Linked DNA regions of Homo sapiens: all the other regions are linked to region 1. The links are contacts of gene promoters, found by promoter capture Hi-C in blood cells and fetal thymus (Javierre and others, 2016). All regions are on one chromosome and are shown on one strand. Each heading gives the region's core, a stretch centred on a gene start or on the middle of the fragment in contact. The rest is flanking DNA. Distances are from core to core; before and after follow the strand shown. Region 1 holds the start of PTPN13 (protein tyrosine phosphatase non-receptor type 13). Region 2 has its middle 19 kb from the start of AFF1-AS1. Region 3 overlaps C4orf36 (chromosome 4 open reading frame 36). Region 4 has its middle 5.1 kb from the start of SLC10A6.

Evidence for each region. Contacts are between HindIII fragments. The CHiCAGO score rates a contact against its expected background, and 5 or more counts as called.
Region 2: a contact is called between a fragment that was not itself captured here and the fragment with the promoter of PTPN13 in region 1, in 1 of 17 cell types (megakaryocytes). The highest score is 5.3, in megakaryocytes.
Region 3: a contact is called between a fragment that was not itself captured here and the fragment with the promoter of PTPN13 in region 1, in 1 of 17 cell types (megakaryocytes). The highest score is 7.9, in megakaryocytes.
Region 4: a contact is called between a fragment that was not itself captured here and the fragment with the promoter of PTPN13 in region 1, in 1 of 17 cell types (megakaryocytes). The highest score is 5.9, in megakaryocytes.

What each region holds. Positions count from the first base shown.
Region 1 is chr4:86,592,380-86,597,054 of GRCh38, forward strand. PTPN13 (protein tyrosine phosphatase non-receptor type 13) reads left to right here and starts at 1,936. Exons shown (of 48, transcript NM_080683.3): 1 at 1,936-2,410. It also overlaps a transcript of MAPK10 not described here. RefSeq lists an enhancer at 1,587-2,173. The HindIII fragment of the contact is 4,151 bases long and covers 1-3,501 here.
Region 2 is chr4:86,913,895-86,918,569 of GRCh38, forward strand. It overlaps a transcript of C4orf36 not described here and the pseudogene ARPC1AP4. Among named protein-coding and RNA genes, the nearest start is that of AFF1-AS1, 19 kb to the right of the region's middle. RefSeq lists an enhancer at 1,094-1,593. The HindIII fragment of the contact is 8,282 bases long and covers 1-4,675 here.
Region 3 is chr4:86,879,026-86,883,700 of GRCh38, forward strand. All of the region lies in intron 4 of C4orf36 (chromosome 4 open reading frame 36), which reads right to left. Among named protein-coding and RNA genes, the nearest start is that of C4orf36, 11 kb to the right of the region's middle. The HindIII fragment of the contact is 1,527 bases long and covers 1,692-3,218 here.
Region 4 is chr4:86,852,134-86,856,808 of GRCh38, forward strand. No RefSeq gene overlaps it. Among named protein-coding and RNA genes, the nearest start is that of SLC10A6, 5.1 kb to the left of the region's middle. The HindIII fragment of the contact is 2,666 bases long and covers 903-3,568 here.

The DNA.
Region 1 (4,675 bases), core at 686-3,185:
AAGAAAAGGAAAAAAGCTAACAACACTGTGGTTTGTCTACTTTTGCGGAAATTTACAACACTATACTTGCTATACCTTCTTTCTGATGTGAATCCACAAGCTATTGCAGCCATTAATTAAGGATATTGCTTTTCTTTCCAATAAATACATGAACTTTCTTTCAGAGGCAAACAGAGACAGATGTTTCATGAAAGTTTCTGTTCTTCCCAACCTGCCTTTCCTACCTCCCTGATAGATGATCCAGAACATTTAAAAATGGGGGAAGAACTGAGAAAAGGGCTCCAATCATCCACTTGTGTTTCCCATCCAAGGAGCCTGGCCTGTTATTTACTTTCACCACTTATCCCTGCTGCTGCTGTTTAGTTTTTGTTGTTCCCCTCAACTGACTTTCCTCATCTTTGCTGCATTCATCAAAGCCCAGTGTAAATTCCCCTCTTCCATAAACTGAGGAATCCAGCCCATTTTACATAGCAAACTTTCTCTTAGCTGCTACCTACTCAAAGTTTGGCTGCACATTTTAGCTATAATTGTTCTCAAATTGTTTCAAGAGTGCTAGTTTTCTTTCTTAGGCTCCAGGTTAGCTCCTTGGGAGCGGGGACTTAGCTTAAAATCCTGCTGTGTATTTTCCGTTGTGTTTAGCCCTATGAGTAATCACATTCAATGCATACTTGTAAGGCATATTTGACTGAAGATATCTATCATAGTTATTCATTTAGTAAATGATATAATGAAAACTCAAGTGCTCGCCAAAGATAAATCATTACTATTAATTCCCTCATTCATCATACATGTATGGCAGCCTCAGGGGCTAGGGAACCTAGGATTGCTGCTTTGACTTTTTTTGGGGAAGCCAAATAAGCCTCAGATCTCTCCACTTTGGAGCCAGCCATGAAATTCAGATTTACCTAGGGCTCAACATTAAGGGTCTCAGACTAAATTTATCTTCAGGTACCCTTTCCAGAGTGGACCAGTTTACCTTATACCTCTGAGAATAACCCAAAACTTTCAAAACTCAAATCACAGGATATTATTTGTTCATGAATTCAGCAAGACTCTCTTGTTTAACTATTGAAACTCAAATATTTCGGCTTGCAGCAAGGAGGGGTACAGCTGTCTGGATATACCTTGGCCAAATTTCAGTGTATATAGAAAAGTGGGAGGTTATCGACTATGTTAAACCTTTTCCTTAAATTTTCAAACTTCGGGATTATTTTAGTCTCATAGATAAAATAACAAGGCAAGTATTTACAAACTTTTTTCAAAAATATGAGAATTTCAGTTTTCCCTAGGGCATTTGGCGTTGTGCTGTCACCACACTTTTGAAGATAGCTTTACAACCGTGGGAAAACTCACCGGGCTTTTTTCGTTGACCCCGCCATTTCTAAGTTGCTATATTGCTGCAAGGAGCTGGCAAAGCCATGCTCTTCCTCTCCCCCATTCTCCTCTTCCTTTCAAAGACCAAAGCGCCCCGTGAGAATATAGAAACAAGGCTGAGAGGCAGCGAAGAGTAAGGGAGGAGCCAGCACTTACGCATTTTTCACTCTCCTCCTCACTCCCTAGGGTCATAGTTTTGATTCTGAAGTTAGAAGTGTGGGGGTCGTCGGCTGCATTTTCAACTTGGCCTAAAAGTTGGAGTTCACCACACTGCAGGCGCTAGGAACTCTGCCGCTCGGTCACCAACCTGAGCCTCTGGCTAGTCCGAAGAACGCGAAAAGCCAGGCCCAAGGCACTGGTTGTCATGGCAACCGGGGCGCTGGTCTCCCTGGCGACCTCGTCCCTAGGGAGGAGGTGGAGCTGGATGCCAGGCGGGCCAATGAGGTCGAGGGGAGCTCGGGGTGGGAGATCTGCGGTCCTCCCAGTGCCGGGGAATGGTTGAGTGACAGGACCGGGGGGGCGGAGCCGGCGCGGCTGCCCGAGGTGGAGCCCCAGTGGTGCGAGTAGCTCCAGCGGCCACGCTGAGGCGAGGGTGACACACCATGCTCACGGCCCCTGGAGACCGTCGTGCTGGCGAGCCGTGCTCCGTAGCTCCCCGGTCCGCCTCGGCAGCGGTCAGAGTCGCCTACAGGAGTTGAGCCGCCCGCGCCAGAAGGTTTTGGCGAAGCTCTTGGAGAGGCGTCGAGCACAGTAGGGCGGCGGGGGTGCGTTGAGCGCTCGGGGGTCAGGCAGTCGGCCGGGATCGCCGCTGGGGAGCGTTTCCGAGGCGAGGAGGAGGAGGAGGAGATGCTGCTCCTCTTCTCCCCCTCCCCAGGCTCCTTCTACAGCTCCTTCAGCCCACGCCCGCAGCCGCTTGTGGGAGAAGTGGTGGTGGCTCTCGGCGCCCGCGGCGGCTGCCGGCGGCCCGCCCCGACGCCGCGTCCCTGCAGCCCTCGCCCGGCGCTCCAGTAGCAGGACCCGGTCTCGGGACCAGCCGGTAAGGACGAGAGCCGCCCTGGGCTCTGCGCTGCATGTGCAGAAGTGCAAAACAAAGTACATTGCGCTCGTTCTCTTCCTCCTCTCTCTGCTTTCGCTCCAGTCCCTAAACCCAACTCCTCGGTTGCCCTGGTAGAAGGAACTTTTCTTTGGTTTTGGTGGTGGGTGTTTTTGTACGTTAGAGTGGGGGTGGGGTGACTGGAGTGGGGAAGAATGAGATGAAACTCCATTGCTAATTAGGTAGATCCATCTCCTCTGCGGAAGAAAGCCGGATTCTCGGGAATGAAACCCACAGGGGGAGTAAGAGATTGTGGGGTAATAGGGAGTGACATTGCCCCGTCGTGCTTGCACAGCTCCGCTCTGTGCGTGCTTAAGGGAAGGGCTCCCGGAGTCTGTTTCTAATTTCTGCAAATGATTGTGGAGATGGTGTGGTTAGAGGCCGCCCAGAAGAATGTGTGTGTAAGGGCTCGAGAAGGGGGTGGGATGGCGGGGAAGCAGAGGAAGAGGGGGCAGAGGGAGAGACACTGTCTGATGCAAGGTCTTTTATTGCTTTTCTTCTGCTTGCTAAAGTTAACACTCTACCCTCCGGCCCCCTAGCCCCACCGCTTTGCTCATTACGTGATACTGTAAGAGCAGACAGCTGGGAAGCTAAAGTTAAACCAAAGTCAAGAAAATTCTTACAAAGTTTAATTTCCTTCTGTTGTGAATATAATGGAGAGAGGAGGATGGGGAGAAATATCACTAAGAGATTTACAGCAATACAGTTTTCATTGGCCATACACGTATATGATCGACACCACCGCACACTTCCAACTAATCTGTTCGACAGCCTTGTGTCATTTTCATTTAATTGCATCTTTGAAACAACAAACGCGGTGACTTCATAGGGAGCTGCCTGGAGCTGAGCTCCCTCGCAGAAAATGGGGCAATCGGGTTTGTTTTCAAGGCAGGACCTGAACAAAATGTAGGACACCTGATCTGTGGGATGAAGGGCGCTGGTAACTAATTATAAATTTTAAGATTTTAAAATTTATATCTAGAAAGTTTACTAAAGGATGGGGGGGGGAGTAAAAGTGCATGTATTATGAAACAAGCTTAGGTATTTTCCTAAAGTCTTCATGACTGTGTTGGCAGGGTCCAGGTGAAAACTTGCTTCATGCTCATTGGCTGCTTGTAGTGGTGCCAATATACAAATTATTTCTCGTTTTAATATCACTAGGAGCATTTGTTAGTAAATTCATACATATATTGATTTAGTAAATTTATACAGAGGCGCACTGACTGACGTCCAATCTTGTTTATTATACTTTGTTCATAACATTGTGTTCTACTTGATGTTCTAGAGGCTTTGTGGGAGTATGTGTGGGGAGAGGATAGGATGGAAATTAGAACTAAAAACAGAAAAATATTTGAGGTTAGTTGTTAAGAAAAGGACTGATTTCATAGTGTTTTTCACTTTTACAATTAGAGAATGATAGCTTGCTTTACCATTATGTAGGTTTATCTTTGAATTTGCATTTGTCCCACCATTTTTACTTGCATGTAAAGCCTAGTTATATTTTGGAGGGTGATTACCAGCATCCAAAAATATAAATGGCTTTTCATGTCACAAGTAACATACACGCACACCATTAAAACCAGTGTCAATTTAAAAGTCAGATTTTAATTCTATGATGGGGTCACGTTATAAAACTTAGGTCATCTTTTTGTTGTTGTTTTTGAGGGCTGCCTCCTAAATACGGTATGTGAATGTGAGAATTAGCTAATCATTTGTTTTGGAGTAGATAATATAAATGATAGGTGTTCATCTTTAAATGAATGAAATTTATGTATTCTTTGTTATTGAGAAAAACGGGTGTTGATTTGTTCTGTCTTTAATGTGTTAAGGATTGGATGGGGAAGTGTTGTAGCTTCTCCCGTATCAATGGGGTGTATATTTTTCCAGCTCATCTTAGTGCCCAGCCCCAAATGTACTGGAGAGAAGGACTGTAAGGGATAAACTATTACTTCTTTTTTTTCCTCTTCACCCTCTTCTTTTGACAGAGGGTGTAATTTTTAAATAAACCCCAAAACATTTTTATGCATAATTAAATTATAATTAACACCATTTGAAATGAAAAAGAAACACAACCATACTCCAAGCCAGTGCATTTAGTAGTTACTCCTGTCAACATATTCTTGTTTTGGAATATGCTTTGGGAGAACTCTGTGTAGTTCAAAGTATTCTCCTGTTTGCCTCTGATGCAACCAAGTACGACTCATTTGA
Region 2 (4,675 bases), core at 2,030-4,529, 320 kb after region 1:
CTCGGCTCACTACGAACTCTCCCGGGCTCACGCCATTCTCCTGCCTCAGCCTCCCGAGTAGCTGTCATCCACTTCTTTAATGTAGGCAGAAAACAGTCTGCATTTGAAGTCACATGATCCTGCTGCCAGCAAAACGTCGTTGGGATGGCAATCCAAGCTGAGGACTGTGGAGCGAATTGGCTTTTTAATGTGCTTGCTCACCCACCAGTCATTTTCAGACTCAAAGTAACAAACAGAAATGAATCGTGCTCCACTTCCCACAGCAAATTTGTTCCCTAGTGGGGACTACTTCACAAAAGTAGCTGCACAGTTAATTCTCAGGATCACCAGGGTTGGCTTACAGACACCATCTTTCTGACTCCAGACATAGGCATTGTGGTCTGCCCCACAAGTGACGATGCGGTCGCTCTTGGGAGCCCAGTCAATACCTGTGATATGTCCGTTGTGCTCCTTGAGTTCATGAGCTTTCACCCCCCGGCTCCCGTTCTTCTTCTTCCTTTTTTTTTTTTTTTTTTTTTTTTTTTGAGACAGAGTCTGGCTCTATCGCCCAGGCTGGAGTGCAGTGGCACGATCTCAGCTCACTGCAACCTCCACCTCTTGGGTACCAGCAATTCTCCTGCCTCAGCCTCCCGGGTAGCTGGGATTACAGGCGCCCGCCACACCATGCCTGGCTAATTTTTGTATTTTTAGTAGAGATGGGGTTTCACCATCTTGGCCAGGCTGGTCTTGAACTCCTGATCTCGTGATCCACCTGCCGAGGCCTCTCAAAGTGCTGGAATTATAGGCGTGAGCCACAGCGCCCGGCTCCGTTCTTCTTATAGATGTGCACTTGGTGATTATTGGAACTGAGGGCAATCTGGGTATGATCCCTGTTCCAGGCACGATAGGTGATTGGCTCTAATAAAAACTGGTGCAGTGACATTATTCTTAGTGTTTTCAAAGGAGAGAAAGCTGGGGTCGGGGGAGTCCGGACGGGCTTGGAGTGGAGGATTCATGGACTCTGGGCAGTCAATGCAAACAGGCCCACCACGGGGACCGATGACTAATTTTCTCTATTTCTATACTTTAATCCCTTTTCTGACAGTGAGAAACCTGACCCTCATTATCTTTGACATATTAGTTTACCTGAATATATTAATCTTCCTGTATATGACCAACCTCCCATCACCTCTTTCATTCCCTCCCCATGCAAACATCCTCCTCACCCCATTGTATTCTGATATGCAATACTAGGCCACCGTAGGCTCGTGGGTGAAAGCCCTCCCATGCCATTTGTGCTCTTGTGTTCTCTGAGCTGCCCCCCTGTATAAGCACCCTCCATCACCCACTCCAGTTCTGACTCCCCACACCAGGTTGCTCCCATGTATGGATGACTTCCTCTCCTTTCTTGGGCTCCAGCACCAGTGCTGGGCCATTTCCATGAATGGATATCCTCCTAATCCCCTTAGGTTCTGACTCTTCACATCAGGCTACTTCCATGTCCACCCAAAACCTGTGAATGTGATTATTCAGAAATAGAGTCATGGCAGATGTAATCAAGTTAAGATGAAGTCATATGGCTTTAGGGTGGGCCTTAATTCAATGACTGATGTACTTAAAGGAGGGAAGGCTGGGCACGGTGATTCACGCCTGTAATCCCAGCACTTTGGGAGGCCGAGGGGGGTGGATCACCTGAGGTTGGGAGTTCAAGACCAGCCTGATCAACATGGAGAAAGAAACCCCATCTCTACTAAAAATACAAAATTAGCTGGACATGGTGGTGCATGCCTGTAATCCCAGCTACTTGGGAGGCTGAGGCAGGAGAATCACTTGAACCCAGGAGACGGAGGTTGCGGTGAGCCAAGATTGTACCATTACACTCCAGCCTGGGCAACAAGACTGAAACTCCGTCTCAAAAGAAAACAATAAATAAAAAAGAAGAGGGAAATTTGGACTCAGATATACAAGGAAAATGCCATGTGATGATGGAGACAGAGGTTGCAGTGATATGTCTACAAGCTAAGGAACACCAGGGAGTGCCAGCAACCACCGGAAGCTAGGAAGAGGGAATGAACAATTCTCCCCTAGAGGCTTGAGAGACAGCATGGCCTGATGACATTTTGCTTTCAGACTTCTGGCCTCCAGAACTATGAGACAATACATTTCTGTTGCTTTAAGGCACTTGGTTTGTGGTCATTTGTTACAGCAGCCCTAGGAAAGTAATACATCTACTTTGTCTGGAACAAGAGGACAGAAGTATGTACTTCCATTGATTTATGTGCAGTTGCTAAGAATTTGGTTGGATGGTCAAGAAAGGAAGAAGATTGAAACACTGGTGACAAAGAAGTATGGGGAATAGGTATGTTGATGCACCTCTTGGAAAGGACATAGACTACAAAGACGTGTGTCTATGTGAATGCTCATCAAGGGAAATTCACAGCAGAGGATGCTCTGAATAACCAAAAGGACAAAATGACATACTATGTGGATGCAAAAAAAAAAAAAAAAAAAACTTTTTCCGGACACTTAATGTTTACTCAATGGGCACATGAATAAAGTGGTCATGATGGCAGGAATGGAGGCTAGACATGGACTCAACAACAGCTTCTCCTGAAGCTCCTAATCAAGATTAGCCAGGCTGACACTATTGCTGAGCACCTTATCTGCCAACAGCAGATGCCAACACTGACCCCTGATATGGCACCATTGCCATATGATTAGCAGCTGTCTGGTAGCAGGCTGATTATACTGGAACTCTTCCATTACTGAGAGGGCAGAAATTCATTCTCATTAGAATTGACACATATTCTGGGTATAAATGCCTTTTCTATTCATAATGATTCTGCCAGAACCTCCACAGACTCATAGAATACCTTGTCCACCATCATGGTATTCCACAGAGCACTGCTTCTGCTCAAGAAACTCATTTCATGGTAATGGGAATACAGCAGTGAACTCATGTCTATAGAATGCGGATACTGCATCATCTAGAAGTGGCTCCCCTAACTTAAAGGCAAAATTGCTTACTGAAAACTCATTTATGCTGCCTGTCTTAGTCTGTTTGAGCTCCAGTAAGAAAATACTATGGACTAGGTGGTTATAAACAAGAGAAATTTACAATCACAGCTGGGTGTGATGGCTCAAGCCTACAATCCCAACACTGGGAGGCCAAGGTGGGAAGATTTCTTAAGGCCAGGAGTTCGAGACCAGCCTGGGCAACATAGTAAGACACCATTTCTACAAAAAAAATAACAAAATTAGCTGGGCTTGGTGGCGTGTGCCTGCAGCCCTAGCTATTCAGGAGGTTGAGGTGAATGAATCCCTTGAGCCCAGGAATTCGAGGCTGCAGTGAGCTATGATCATGCCACTTCACTGCACCCGGGGCAGCAGAATCAGACCCTGTCTTCAAAAAAGAGGAAAGACAGAAATAAAGAAAGGAAGAGAGAGAGAGAGAGATGAAGGAAGGAAGGATGGAAGGAAGGAAGGAAAGGATGGAAGGAAGGAAGGAAAGGAAGGAAGGAAGGAGAGAGAAAGAGAGGAAGAGAGAGAGAAAGAAAAAGAAAGGGAGAGAAAGAGAAAAAGAAAGAAAGAAAAGAAAGAAATAAAGAAAAAGAAAGGGAGAGAAAGAAAGAGAAAAAGAAGAAAGAAAAGAGAGAGAAAGAGAAAGAAAAGTAAGGAAGGAAGAGAGAGTGAGGGAGGGAGGAAGGAGAAGGGAAGGGAAAGAAGGAGGGAGGAAGGGAGGGAGGGAAGAAGAGAAAGAGAAAGGAAGGAGGAAGGAAGGAAAGAAGGAATTTAGTCATGTATCACATAAAAACAAGAATACCTTCTAAGAAGTGTGTTGTTAGCTGATTTTGTCACTGTGAACATCTTAGACTGTGCTTACACAAACCTAGATGGTATAGCCTCCTACGCCCCTAGGCCATGTGAGATAACCTACTCCTCCTAGGCTACAAACCTTTACAGCATGTTACTGTACTGAATACTATTGGCAGTTGAAATGATAAGTATTTGTATAAACATAGAAAAGATAATGTGTTGCACTATCAGTAGGTATAGGAATTTTTCAACTCTACTGTAATCACATGGGACCATCCGTCATTGACCAATATGTCATTATGCAATGCAAGATCAAGGTACCATCCATTTCTGTGTCTGGTGAGATGTCTCTTCTGGATAGACAGCCTTCTTTTCACTCTAATGTCACATGGCAGAAGGGGTGACAGGTCTCTCTCAGTCCTTTTTTTATTTTTAAGGGCACTAATCCCATTCATGAGGGCTATGCCCTCCTGACCTAATCATCTCCCAAAGGCCCCACTTCCAAATACTATCACCTTGGGGGTAAGGATTTCAACATATGAATTTTGGGGGGGACATAAACATTTAGACCACAGCAGTGCCAGATGTGAAACCACACTTTTAAAGATCGGATTCTGACTTGGAAGATGCAGTATATGCTTTGAATCAGAGACCGTGATGTAGTGCCATCTCCTCCACAGCCAGAACAAGAGTCCAGGAATCAAGGAGTATGAGTGAGAGTGGCTCCTTTCACTACTGTATCAAATAACCCACTTATAAAATGTTTCTTCCTATCCTGGCAACTCTAAGACTTGCTGATGTGAAAGTTTTTGTTCTCAAGGGAGAAATGTTTCCATTAGAAATACAACTATGTGTCTAGTCCACTACATTGGAAGATGAG
Region 3 (4,675 bases), core at 1,205-3,704, 290 kb after region 1:
ATGTCTAAAGACTGGGAGAGGTAGCTGTTTTTTATTTGGTTTGGGGGGTTTTGGTTTTTTTGTTTGTTTTTTGTTTTTGTTTTTTGAATGCCCAAAGCTCAACAAAAGGGCACAAGGCCTACAAAGAAACAGGAAAACATGGCCTGATCAAAGTAACAAAATAAATTTCCAGAAACCAACCCCCAAAGAAACGCAGGCCTATGATTTACCTGACAAAGGATTCAAAATAAACATCTTAAAGATGCTAAGTGAGCTAACAGAGAAGATAAACAACTAAAAATCAGGAAAATGATACATGTACAAAATGAGAATATCAACAAAGTCATAGAAACCATTTTTTAAAATCTGGAGCTGAAGAATACAATAACTGAATTTTAAAATTCACTAGAGGAGTTCAACAGGACACTTAAGCAGAAAAAAGAGTCAGTGAATTTGAAGTCAGATCACTTAAAATTATTGAGTCAGATAAGCAAAAAGAAAGAATGAAGAAAAGTGAAGAACGCCAAAAATACTTATAGAACACCATCAAACAGACCAATATATGCATGATGGGAGACCCAGAAGAAAAGGGAGAAAGGACTAGCAAGCCTACTTGAAGAGATAATGGCCAAAATCTTCCCAAATTTGAGGAAGAAAATGAACATACCAATTCAAAAAGCCCAACAAACTCCAACTAGGATAAACCAAAGTGACCCAAACCAAAACACATTATTATCAAACTGTAAAATGTCAAAGACAAAGAGAGAATCTTGAAAGCAGCAAGAGAAAAGTGACTCATCACATACTAGGGAGATCTTATTAGACTATAAGCAGTTTGTTTTGTTTCTTTTTTTTTTTTTTTTTGAGATAGGATCTTGCTCTGTCACCCAAGCTAGAGTGCAGTGGCATCATCATAGCTCACTGCAGCCTCGAACTCCTGGGCTCAAGCAATCCTCCTGCCTCAGCCTCTGGAGTAACTGTGACTATAGGCACACACTACCATGCCTGGATAATTTTCTTTTTATTTTTTGTAGAGATGAGGTCTCACCGTATTGCTCAAGCTGTTCTTAAACTCCTGGTCTCAAGCAATCCTCCCACCTTGGCCTCCCAACCTTCTGGGATTACAGGTGTGAACCACTGAGCCCAGCCTACCAGCAGATTTTTTAGCAGAAACCCTGCAGGCCAGGGCAAAGTGTGGTGGCTCCCACCAATACTCCCAGCACCTTGGGAGGCCAAGGTGAACAGATCAGTTGAGGTCAGGAGTTCGAGACCAGCCTGACCAACATGGTGAAACCCTGTCTCTACTAAAAATCCAAAATTAGCCAGGCGTGGTGGTGCTACTTGGGAGCATGAGGCAGAGAATTGCTTGAGCCCAGGAGTTGGAGGTTGCAGTAAGCCAAGATTGCGCCACTGCACTCCAGCCTGGGTGACAGAGCGAGACTCCGTCTCAAATAAAAGAAACCCTCCAGGCCAGAAGGGAGTGAGGTAATATATTTGAAGTGCTAAAAGGGAAAAAACTGCCAACCAACAACACTATGTGTGGCAAAACTGTCCTTCAAAAATTAAAAAGAAATTAAAACTTTCCCAGATAAACAAAAGCTGAGGAGGTTCGTTACCACTAGGCCTTACCCCTACAAGAAATACTAAAGAGACTCCTTCAAGTTGAAACAAAAAGACACTAGACAGCAACATAAAACCATAGAAAAATATAAAGCTTTCTGATAAAGGTAAATATGTAGATAAAATGTAGAATTAGGCCAGGTGCAGTGGCTCATGCCTGTAGTCCTAGCACTTTGGGAGGCTGAGGCAGGCAGATCACCTGAGGTCAGGAGTTTGAGACAAGGCTGGTCAACATGGCAAAATCCTGTCTCTACTAAAATTAGCTGGGCATGGTGGCACATGCCTGTAATCCCAGCTATTCAGGAGGCTGAGGCAGGAAAATTGCATGAACCCAGGAGGTGGAGGTTGCAGTGAGCTGAGATCACACCACTCGACTCCAGCCTGGGCAACAGAGTGAGATTCCGCCTCAAAAAAAAAAAAAAAAAGGTTTCTCTATCTATATATAAAATTCTATAGTATTGTAAGTAGTGTAATGTTGTTGTGTAGATCACTTTTAAGTTTGGCATAGAATCTAAAATACAAAAGCATGAAAAATAACTATAAATTATGTTAATGAATACACAATATAGAAAGATGTAATTTCTGACATCAATACCAAAGTAGGGGAAAGTGGAGATGTAAAGAAGTAGAATTTTTGCATGCCACTGAAGTTGAATTGTTATCAGTTTTAATTAAATTGTTATAACCTTAAAATGTTTTACGTAAAAATGGTATATTTGTTCATTCTGACCTTTGTCTTGAACTGTTTTAGTCCCATATTCAATCATATCATGGCTATCTCCTGATTTTTAAAAAGTATCCTATCTTAAAAAGAATACCAAAAAAATTAGCCACGCATGGTGGGACCATAGGCAGCTATAGTCCCAAGTAGCTGGGATTGCTTGAACTTAGGAGTTCAAAGTTGAAGCGAGTAATGATCATGCTACTACGCCCCAGCCTGGGCAACAGAGCCAGATCCTGTCTCTAAAAAAATTCTTTTAATTAAAAAAATTAAAAATAAGAATGCAACAATCAAGTGCATTCTATTGTGGATCTTTCACCATCTGAAATTTTCTTTTTTTTTTTTGAGATGGAGTTTCACTCTTGTCTCCCAGGCTGGAGTGCAATGGTGTGATCTTGGCTCACTGCAACCTCCACCTCCTGGGTTCAAGTGATTCTCCTCCTGCCTCAGCCTCCCAAGTAGCTGGGATTACAGGCGCATGCCACCATGCCTGGCTAATTTTTTGTAGTTTTAGTAGAGACGGGGTTTCACCATGTTGGCCAGGCTGGTCTTGAACTCCTGATCTCAGGTGATCCACCCATCTCAGCCTCCCAAAGTGCTGGGATTACAGGCGTGCGCCTCCATGCCCGGCCCTGAAAATTTTCAATCAATGATCGTCTATTGAGTGCCTATATGAGTTATGCATTGGAGCACTAACATAAGAAAGCATTCCTTTCCTGCTCTTAAGGCATTTCAAGAGAGGGAGAGACATATACACATATTACTGAATTTTGCAATGTAATTTTATTTCAATATGTGCAGTTTTCAGAGGTTCAGAAACACCTGCCTAAAATCATGATTAAGAGAATCTTAAAGCTGGAAGCAGGACTCTTCTCTCAAGAAAATCATGAGGAACCAAAGCTTTCTCAAATTCCATCTTTTCTCAAGGAATATTAAAATATTTTATTCTGGCAAACTTTTTACAGATACACGTTTCATTCATTTTCAACATTATGAAAAAGAATGTGTGATCTGAGAGACCAGAACAGATGCCTCTTTATCAACTAAGATGGCCCACAAGGTTAAGGAAATAAAAATTATTATGGTGTCAAGGGCTCAGGGCTCAGTTGGCATGACAACTTCCTAAATTCCTACCCCTAGAAGAAAAAGCACACTCTTGCTAAATTCCATAACAACAGGAGCTATCACAGCCCTCCTGACCTTGATTTACATCCCACACCACTACAACTCTGATTGAGCAGAGGACTAACCTTACAAACCTTCTTTTCTGAAAAGCAACTACAGACCTTAAGCCAGTTTCTGCCAGCTTATAGAGGCTGCTCATGAACTGTGTCTGTGCCCTGTAGTTCACTTTTGATATAGAGCCAAACTCCACCTTATTTTAATGCTAAAACCCCACCCCAAAGTGAACATGGGAAGTATGTTACATATATGTTTGCCCATTGCACATGTGCTTGACTACCTTCATACATATGTATAGCTTTCCCCCCAAAACCTGCTGAATATGTATTACTTTACTGTGTGATACACGCCCTGGGAGGCCTAAAACCCAGCCTGCCCTTTCCCTCTTCGAAGAAAGAGCACCTTCAGTCCACTTCAGAGACTCTCTTCCCAATTCGCAAACTGATATCACCAATAAAACTCTCCTTTCTAATATTTAGCCATCCTGATGGTCTTTTGGACAACAGATGGAAGCATATTACTTATACCCACAATTAATGCCACTAACTAAAAGTGCCAGGTTGTGAGTGAGGTGTGACATGCTTAGGGCTCCCTGGTGGCTCCAGAGGACAGACCACAAAATGATATCTGTGCTTCTGGGTTACACAGTGGGGACATCAGGATGTGACATTTTTGCACACAAATTCTCCATGCTACTTTTAAGAGAAAGACATAAGTGACAAGTTGATTATCAGGGATTATGATTTTTAAAGAGAAATGATCAGGATTTGCCATAGGTACAGTGGCCATATTTTCAACTAAAAATTCAGGTCAGATAGTTTGGCAAGTAGTACATATATATTGTAAGAATAAAACCAAATTTTTTAAATTTCAAGACTCCTGGTCTGCACAAAGATCAAGAGAATCAGCCCAATATAATATATCTTCTATACCTAGATTACAATGATAGTGATACTCACAGTAATGTCTAACACTAGAGTAATTCTCATTGTGTGCCTGGCAGTTTTCATTTAATCTTAAGAAGTAGGTATACCTGTATTATCCCCATTTTACAAATGAGAAAACAAACACAGAAACAAGGTAACTTATCCCAGCTCACACAGCAATAAGCAGCTGAGCTATGATTTGAAGAAAGGCACCCAGGTCTAAAGTCTATATTCTTAAACAGTATGC
Region 4 (4,675 bases), core at 986-3,485, 260 kb after region 1:
GACCGGAAGGGACAGGGTGGCAATGGATAAAGGCCCACTGGACTGGGTGGGGCCAATGCATCAAAAGGTCCCAACAGAAACAACCGCAGTGATCCCAGGGCCTACCAGCGGGCTGGTCAGGCTTTTCCAAGTTTCTCCCCAGTGGAGATGGGAAGGAGATTTTCCTGGGAAGAGTAAGCACTTAGGGTTCTCGGTCAATTTGTAAAGAAGATTTCAAATACAGGATCGCAGACTTCCTGCCCTTATTGGTAAGTAGAGATTCAAATGATTAATTAGAAAATTTTAAAAAGCATGACCAACTTTACATCCCAAGCCAGTGAGGCAGATTATGAGATCCCACTTAATCCTCACATTTATTCTAGGAAGTAACAAAGGCCCATTGGGGCCATATTATTTGTCGAAGATTATTAAGCAGGTAAATTATAACATTGGGATTTAAATCTCAATCTAATTCTCCACCTGTCCTCGTTTCCTTCCCTGGAGCACACTGAAGTGGAAGCAATGAAAAGCAGTCAAGAGCAAGACCATGCGGAAAAGACTGGCAACCACTTAGGCATAGCTCAGGGGTAAAACACCACTATTTGGCTTAAGGATGGAGAAATAAACTAATCCCTAATCTCTAACATTATCTTCTATTCTCACACACTCAAAAGGCATCTACATATGTTCAATATGTATGCACCTTCATTTTGAGATCCAGTTCTACAAATCACAGGAAGTATTTCATGTACTTCCAGCCTCTGTAAGTAGAATTTGGGGTGAAAGATACTCCTCAGGAAAACCAACAGAAAAGGCTGGGAATGTAAAGTCTGAGGGGAAAGTGCCAAAAGAAAAGGTAACCAGACTTGGCTGTGGAACTGTTTCCCACGCTCTGAAAGGCAGCACAGGGTAAAACTTCTAGAAGCTTGAAAGACAGAAAAATCCTATAGGTTCAAAAAGAGTTTACGTAAATTCATGAGAGATAAATCCAAAACAGATATAAAGGAAATTGGCAGTAATGGAAAAAGTAGACTGTTTACTCAGACATGACACAAGGTAAAAAGCCAAATTCAGTATTTTTTTAACTCAACAATAAAAACACTATCACTTCCCAGAAAAAAAGACAAAATACTTGAAAAAAAGTGATCAACATCTTCCATGGTTGTAGTGTCCCTTCCAAAACTCATGTTGACATTTAATTGTCATTTTAACAATGTTGAGAAGTGGGCCCTTTAAGAGGTAATTAGGTCATGAGGGCTCTGGATAGATGAATGCTGTTATAGTGGGGAAGAATGGGTTCGTTATAGTGGGAATGCCATGTGATGCCTTCTGACATGTTACGATGCAGCAAGAAGGCCCTGGCCAGATGTGACCCTTTGGGAAGCCCATGATTTTGGGCTTCCCAGCCTCCAGAACAATGAACGAAATAAATATCTTTTCTTTATAAATTACTTTGTCCGTGGTACTCTGTTATAGCAGCAGAAAACAGCCAGGCGTGGTGGCTCACACCTGTAATCCCAGCACTTTAGGAGGCTGAGGTGGGAGGATCACCTGAGGTCAGGAGTTCAAGATCAGCCTGACCAACATGATGAAACCCTGTCTCCACTAAAAATACAAAAATTAGCTGGGCGTGGTGGTGGGTACCTGTATTCCCAGCTACTTGGGAGGCTGAGGCAGGAGAATCACATGAACCTGGGAGTGAGAGGTTGCAGTGAGCCAAGATCATGCCATTCCACTCCAGCCTGAGTGACAGAGCAAGACTCCATCTCAAAAAAAAAAAAAAAAGAAAAGAAAAGAAAAGAAGAAAAGAAAACAGAAATTAGGACAACATCACCACTAGTTTTTTTAGTTTTTTTTGTTTTTTTGAGACAGGGTTTCATTCTGTCACCCAGGCTGGAGTACAATGGTGCTATTATGGCTCACTGAAGCATTGACCTCTGGAGCTTAGGTGATCTTCCCACCTCAGCTCCCAGGTAGCTGGGACCACAGGCGCACACTACCATGCCTGGTTAATTTTTATATTTTTTGTAGAGATGGGATTTCTCCATGTTGCCCAGGCTGGTTTCGAATTCTTGGGCTTAAGCAATCCCCCTACCTCGGCCTCCCAAAGTGCTGGGACTGCAGGTGCAAGCCACTGCACCTGGCCATCACTACTAATTTTTTTTAAAGTACAGTGAAATAAGATAACATGTTTTGCATAACAACAAGAATATGCAATTTTAAGGTAAATATCCCCAGCTTTTAAGAGTTGAGTGAAAGATACATTCTCATATACTGCAGGTGGGAAATAAAATTCATAAAACCTTTCTGGGTAAAGTCTGGCAATATGTACTAAGAGCCTTTGTTTATTAAGAAGATGTTTTAATAAACGAACTTCAATATTGGCAAAGATTTATTATTTTTTTTCGCTCTGTCGCCAGGCTGGATTGCAGTGGCATGATCTCAGCTCACTGCAACCTCTGCCTCCCGGGTTCAAGTGATTCTCCTGCCTCAGCCTCCTGAGTAGCTGGGACTACAGGTGCCACCACGCCCAGCTAATTTTTTTGTATTTTGAGTACAGATGGGACTTCACCATGTTGGCCAGATGGTTTCCATCTCTTGACCTCGTGATCTGCCCACCTTGGCCTCCCAAAGTGCTAGGATTACAGGTGTGACCCACCGCACCCAGCCAAGATTTATTATTTCTTTGGGGCGGATGTTCCTATTTATAATAGTATTGTTATTTATAAATACATTCCTATTTATAACAGCATATTTATAAAAGCAGAAAACTAGGCCAACTTAAATGTCCAAAGAGAGACTGATTAAGTAAATTATAGTACAACCATACAATGAGGTGATATGGAGCTTTTTTTAATGTAAGCGGGAGAGGTACAGTGGCTCACCCCTGTAATCCCAGCACTTTGGGAGGCCAAGGTGGGAGGATCACTTGAGCCCAGGAGTTCTAGACCAGTCTGAGCAACATAGTGAGACTCTGTCTCTACAAAAAAAATTTTTTTTAATTAGCCGGTCCTGGTGGCATGCACCTGTAGTCCGAGCTACTCAGGAGGAAGAGGTGGAAGAATCACTTGAGCTTGGGAGGTCTAAGCTACACTGAGCCATGATCACACCACTGCACTCCAGCCTGGGTGACAGAGTGACATCCTGCCTCAAAAAATAAAAATTTAAAAAACTTTTTAAAAAGTAAACATTTTAACAAGGAGAAATATTTACAAGATTAAACATGATCATTTTTTCTTATCGATAGGCAAACAGAATCCTCCTAGCCATGTTAAAATAATAAGCAACTAAATGGAGAAACACTAAAATTTTCATAATGATTGCTTCTGTATGCTGAATTAGTGATGATTTGTTCTTCTTTATATTTTTTGTACTATCTGCTATCTTTGAAATGGCTAGCAATTACCATTTTTATAATTGAGAAAAAAGGAACTGAAGGAAAAGGAATAAAAATAGAAGGAGTCGTGGTTATTTCCAGTAACTCCTACAGGCTGATAACATCCTGATGACTCCATGAGGAGCTGGACTGTTGAGATGACTCAATTGTCTTTGTTCTTAGGATTTTACAAGGGAGCCTAATAAATACCAAAGCTTCCAGTAAGTGATGCCTGCAGAAAATGAAATGCAAGGACATGAGAAGAATGGACAGGCCAAGTCAGGACCTAGAGGCCAAGTCAGGACCTGGAGAAGGGTAGTAGATGGGACTGCAAAGTGCTTAGCCTGAAACGGCACCTGCTCCACCTTCAGGATAAAATGACCAGAAGGTAAAACAAAGTATCCTGTCAACAAAACTAACTGGAAAGACTTGTTTACCCTGCACTGGTAGCATGCTATTTATAGTATTATTTGTGGTCCTTTTCCCAACAATCTTTTCTGACTGCAGCTCATCAGATCAGATGTTATTAAGCTTATAAACATAAATTCTCATCGCCTACTTAAATCCTAGAATTATGAGAAGAAAATGCATTACAAGTTGTAATAAATGAGATTAATGGGGTTTGTCAGCCATAAGAGCAAATTACTCATACTGATTTTCTACGATAATAACTGCCATTTGTTGAGTCTTTCCTAAACATATTACCTGAGGACCTATCACAGGGTCTTCCATGTAGCAGGTCCCTTAGGTAATTCATATCCTCCTCCCAACAACCTTATCAAGTAGGTATCATTATTACCTTCATTGGCCCATAAGTGAAGAAAGGCTGATTGCAATTAAGCAACTTACCACAGACTAAGGTAGTAAACAGAACAGCAAGATGGTAGAGGTTGACTCCTGAGCCTATACTGTATATGAAAAGTAAAATAATAAAAGTTCATGGGTTTCACTTGTATAAACTATTATTCTTGCGACTCAAACTAAACCACATCCTGATTACTACTACTCACCTTGCCAACCCTAAACCTTTAATTCATGTGCCTTTCGAGGTCTAAATACAGGTGCATGGAAAACATGTTAACTGGCATTCTGAAAGAATAATATCCAGGCTGAAAGGGTAGTATTTTAATTTATAGGTCTGAATAACTTTTATTTTGAAGTAATTACCTGATTAAAACATTCATGATCCTAAATACAGAAAATATTTCCCAGCACTCATCCTAGGTTCTAAACTACTTTACAGTGGCCTCCCTAAAAGAATACATAAGCAAAACAGATCCTTCACCACGTCAACCAAGAGCCCCCAAGAAAGGAGATGAA